Linked DNA regions of Homo sapiens: region 2 is linked to region 1. Evidence: promoter capture Hi-C in human tissues and cell types (Jung and others, 2019). All regions are on one chromosome and are shown on one strand. Each heading gives the region's core, a stretch centred on a gene start or on the middle of the fragment in contact. The rest is flanking DNA. Distances are from core to core; before and after follow the strand shown.

The links. Contacts are between HindIII fragments. The study calls those that stand out against the background at their distance.
Region 2: a contact is called between a fragment that was not itself captured here and the fragment with the promoter of SLC5A8 in region 1, in 2 of the 25 tissues and cell types used here (aorta and mesenchymal stem cells).

What each region holds. Positions count from the first base shown.
Region 1 is chr12:101,208,953-101,211,652 of GRCh38, reverse strand. It overlaps SLC5A8 (solute carrier family 5 member 8), which reads left to right and starts at 1,415. Exons shown (of 15, transcript NM_145913.5): 1 at 1,415-2,155. The coding sequence starts at 1,805. The HindIII fragment of the contact is 10,158 bases long and covers 1-2,700 here.
Region 2 is chr12:101,126,610-101,129,309 of GRCh38, reverse strand. It overlaps ANO4 (anoctamin 4), which reads right to left. Exons shown (of 28, transcript NM_001286615.2): 27 at 2,236-2,431; 28 at 681-1,449. The coding sequence ends at 2,240. Among named protein-coding and RNA genes, the nearest start is that of SLC5A8, 82 kb to the left of the region's middle. The HindIII fragment of the contact is 4,776 bases long and covers 1-2,700 here.

The DNA of each region.
Region 1 (2,700 bases), core at 166-2,665:
GTAGGTGGCAGTCAAGAGGTGAGTTTGCAGTCTACAGATTTAACCTCAGACTATTCTGCTTCTAACATGACTATAGAAATGTATTGATCATTAGCTGCCTGAAGTTCTGTTCTTAACTCTAGGTGTCCAAAAGAAGATGAATTTTGTTTAGATAGCATTTTCCCATATCTAGGGCTGTTGGCTTTAAAGAAGTTCCCAGAAGTGAATCCAATTCCCAGAAGGATCAAGGTGGATTCTTTTGTGTGTTACTCTAACAGGTTGCTTTATATATATATATAAGTTATATAATATACACATATAATTTATGTATTATATATAAGTATGTATAACATCATATGTAATATATAAATATAGTACATTTCACACTGGTAGGACGTAATTCCAAACCACATATTTGTTTAACCAATTGAATTACTTGGATTTAGTTTCTATTTCCCTCTTTATTTCCTTCTGAAAATATTATACAAATAACATCAGTTTACAAAAAATAAAATCTGATATAGCTTTTTTATCATACACTAGGCTAGACTAAATGCATTCTGTGGATTGTTTACCTAGGACCAGATGGTATATTATAAAGTTGTATACAAATGAACAAGGACTGCCTGAAATGGATTGATAGCTGAGCACATTTGGCTGGAGCGTCTATTTTAGAAGGAAAACCTGAGAATCATATTATTTGAGTGTGATTCATGTGTTAATAGTATTTCAAGACAAGCCACTTAAAATATGTCCTGAGTGGTGATGCTGGAAATGATCTTTTCTTCAGTGTTTTCAAGTGTCTTCATTTAAGTGTACACATTTTGCCTACCTATAACACGTATCTACACATTGTGATTAAGAGAGCAAACTCTGAAATCAGACCTAGATTAAAGATCTTAATCTCTGCCAGTTGATTGGGCAAGTGACTTAATCATTCGACAGTAATTTCTGCATTTGAAAATGCCTATCTCAAGGGTAATGAGAATTACACTGGTTCACCAAAAGAATTACACTGACTAATATAAAACGTGCCAAGCATGTATGTGTCACATGAAGGCTCATTAAAAAGCGGATATTATTGTTAATCTTCCAATAACTACTATTTCCAACAACAGGCTGAAGGGGCTCAGAAACGTTTGTTGAGTAAAAACACAAGGAAACAGTAGCACAGATTTCCTGCTCTCCTTTACGATCGATGACCTGTCTAAGGACTGTGATCTCTGTTCACTACAGATTGTCACCTGCATTAATCTACTGTCACCCATTAACCTATCAAATAAGGCAGTCTAAAAACTCCAGGCGTCCCTTTCCGTAAGGACCCGGACTGTTGAACTGGAAAGCTAAAATTCAAGGCGTGACAATTGCCCTTTGTCCCACATTCCTCCACCGGTCGCCTGCTTATTTAAATGGTGCGTCCCCTCGGGTACCACTTGAACAAAACCTGCCCAGAGCGCTCCCTGTGTAGATTCGCTGGAAGCAGCTGGAGGCTCCAGTTCTCATCTGCTCAGGTGTCCCCGGCGCCTTGGCGAACTCGGCCACTCCAGTTCCTCACGTGGTGAGCACTCAGGGCAGCGGGTCGATTTTCCGAGGTCCCATACCTGGGTTTGAGGGGCGCGGCTCGCAGCGGCGGGTGCAGGGGCGACTGCCAGCCCTCACCCCGCCTCGGGGTGCGTTCGGAGGCCGACACCTGGAGGACGCCTCCAGTCCCCGCGGGACGCCACGCCTGCGCGCCAGGGATCCGGGATAAGAAGTGCGCGCCGGGCTCCGGCTGCGCGCCGCGGGGCCACCAGTTTGCGCGCAGGGCTCAGGCGACCGTGCGGCCATGGACACGCCACGGGGCATCGGCACCTTCGTGGTGTGGGACTACGTGGTGTTCGCGGGCATGCTGGTCATCTCGGCCGCCATCGGCATCTACTACGCCTTCGCTGGGGGCGGCCAGCAGACCTCCAAGGACTTCCTGATGGGCGGCCGCAGAATGACCGCAGTGCCCGTGGCGCTGTCCCTCACCGCTAGCTTCATGTCAGCCGTCACTGTCCTGGGCACCCCCTCCGAGGTCTACCGTTTTGGGGCCATTTTTAGCATCTTTGCCTTCACCTACTTCTTTGTGGTGGTCATCAGCGCGGAGGTCTTCCTCCCGGTGTTCTACAAACTGGGAATTACCAGCACCTACGAGGTAAGGGGCAGGGTGGGCTGGGACCATGCAGGGCGCGGGGGAAGGGGACTCTGCAGACCTCTGGAGGCGTTTTCTTGGGGGCAGACTGTCACTGCCACATCGAAATCTCTCCCCGTCCATCGTCATCATCACCCTCCCTTCACTCCTCCCCGTCCCCCGATCTTCACCTGGCATCTTTCCCTTCTACTGAGAGGCGTCCTCTAAGGGTGAAAAAATTCTTGGGATTTACTCTCCTGGGCTTAGTGAAAAAAAGAGGCTTCCAAAGTGAACGGATTGCAACAGTAGTGCTCGCTATGGTCCTTTCTACCTTTAGCATCTTTGATTCCCAGGCAAGGGGAAAGATTTTTGGGGAAGGTAAGTTCTTCAGGTCTCAGGCCCTGCTTCTTGAAAGGAATACTCTTGTTCCAGGTCCTCAGCCCCATTCACTCTTCCAAGATAGTTGGTAAAGAATTTGTACTCCCCTTCCTTCCCCTTCCACACCCACCCCCTTTCCACTGAAACAGGCACCCAAGTGGCTAAGGTGTACCAGTACCTGTATTTCGGAC
Region 2 (2,700 bases), core at 111-2,610, 82 kb after region 1:
CGATCTCCGCTCACTGCAAGCTCCACCACCCGGGTTCATGCCATTCTCCTGACTCAGCCTCCCTAGTAGCTGGGACTACAGGCACCCACCACCACGCCCAGCTAATTTTTTTGTATTTTTAGTAGAGACAGGGTTTCACCGTGTTAGCCAGGATCGTCTCAATCTCCTGACTTCGTGATCCACCCGCCTCGGCCTCCCAAAGTGCTGGAATTATAGGCGTGAGCCACCGTGCCCGGCTATATACTACATTTTCTTTATCCACTCCTTGGTTGATGGGCACTTAGGTTGGTTCTGTATTTTTGCAATTGTTAATTGCAGACAACTGAGGTTTTAATGAAGATTATAGTGTTGAAGTAGGATATTTCTAATATTCTAGTCTTATGAGGACTTATAAAATTGGGTAGATTATCAAATCCTCAAATTACGGCATATTCATTTTGGCTTATATTTAAAATATTCCACCATCAAGACTGGGGAAAAAAGTTCATCAGAAACATACGCTGATATTTGGCTATATTGTTTGTTTTTGCATGCATTTATGCAATAAACAAACATCTGATTTCTTGCACAGTCCCTCAGATATTCTCCTCACATTAAAGATTCCACTTACTTATTCTGTGATTTCTCTTATTCTATGAGACAAAAATACAACAGAATGTCAGAAGAGCCAGCTGAAAATATTCCATGTGCAGAAATTTATTTTAAATTTTATTGCATCACATTATACAAGCATTAATCATGGCTTCATATTGATGACTATTTAAATGTGAAAATTCACTCATGTCAGTACTTTTTGGCTATTTACAAGTAAGGAATTTCTATGTACTTTATATATCTCTGTATTTGTATGTACATATGCAGGAATACATGACTATACATATGTACACACAGAAATACATCTATGGCCATACACATAGCTATAGATATGTCATATATAATAATCTTCTCAGAAAGGTCTAAAATTAAAAAAAAGGAAAGAAAAAGTTGTAAACAGGGTCTTGTCTGTGTTGTTGGTGACATGGAATTAGGACCATATGATGACATTCTAGGAATGTGTGTCCATGTGTCTGAATACCCTTTTTAGCCCAGTGTCTGTAAAATTCACATGGGATAGAATGCAAAAAAGGTAGCAAACAGGCTGAAAAACAGGCCCAGTATACAAGTTCCCCTTGATTTTAAAAACTTGAGAATGTAACTGCCCATAATGTGCATGCTTGCTTGGTCAAGAATGGTCTATGGATAGATAGCAATTGTGCGCTGGACTGCAACGTGATTTCACAGCAGTGTGACTCCAACGCCAGTCCTCTACTGGATGCTGCCCCTCCTGCGGCCGCCGGTATCTGCAACATGCACTGTGGTTGCATTTTTAGTCATTCACTTGAGTGTGCTTTTGCACAGCCAGAAGAAGTAAACAGAATTCAGGTCCTTGGCCTGGAAAGGGACTATTTTCTGGAAAGAGAAAAGAAGGCATAAAGATCTTATGCATACACAATTGCTTTAAAACATGAGGTGCAATAGTTTGTACTTACCATGCACCAAAGGCATTCAAAGAATTTGTAACCCCAAATGGAGTCAGGGATGGTATAAACATTTTTATGCTTGCTTTATGGGTGAACAGACTGAGTCAGAAGGGCAGTCTAAAGCAACATCACATCCTGCCAACTATTGGGGAAATAGAAACAGGCAGGCAGATACTATGCTTTCAAGCAAAAATTAGAAATGGCCTTTTTGGGAAGAAAGCAGCCAGTAGTGGTGGGGCCAGAAGAAATTCTTCATCAGTTACTGGTCCTGCAGCCCAGGACAGCCCTGTTGCACCTTGGTCTCTGGCCGCTGAGGCTTTCAGGAAGAATTCTCTTTGCTAATGTCTGCCTCCCACCCACCTAGAAAGAAGGGGCATGTTTCCCTGGGGATATTAAAGAAAACAGCCCGGCTGGAGGAAAAGAGAGAGGACGCTTTGTTTCAGGGAACTCCTAGGCCAATTCATGAAGACCTTGACTGATAGGCCAGAGTCTGGCAAGAAGGCAGAGAAGTGTTGCAGAAGGTATGTGGGAGGGGAAGATCAAGCAAAATTTGCAACGATTAAAGTAAAAAACAAGCTTCTTTTGGATTGGGAAGCTTCTAAGGAGTTTATTTTGATCCCTGTTACTGCAACAATGGTAAGCTTTGCTTCAGGGAGTTTAAAGCACCCATTCAACCTCGGAATGGCCTCAGACGCTGAGCACACCTCTCACCTACATGGTCACGGCCACTCGTTGTGGTGTGCTTTTCCATTCTTCTTCCTCTCCTTTCGTTCCTTCTGGAGACGTTCCAGTTCTGCTTCATACATCATCTCCTGAATCAAGTACTTCTCTCTTCTCATTCGATCCCTTAGGTCTTTTGGGAGGTCTGGGATCAGATATGAAATGAGGTGCTTTATACAAAACACGAGGTGCTAAAACAGAGGAGAATGTAACAGCGTCAGGTCTACTGTGCATCCTGAATGAGGTTAGAGAGTTGGCTGAAGAAGGATGTGGACCCTCTGGGGTATGTGGAGAGTGCAAAGTGACCAGGGGAGGCGTGTGTAATGCAAGATGATAGGACAGGTGAGGCCTGAACTGGTCTGATGGCACCACCTAAGGAATAGAAAGAGGAGTCTGGAAGGAAGGTGGGAAAAGAATGGTCAGATAATTAATTCAAAGGAGAGCCAGAAGAATGTATTCT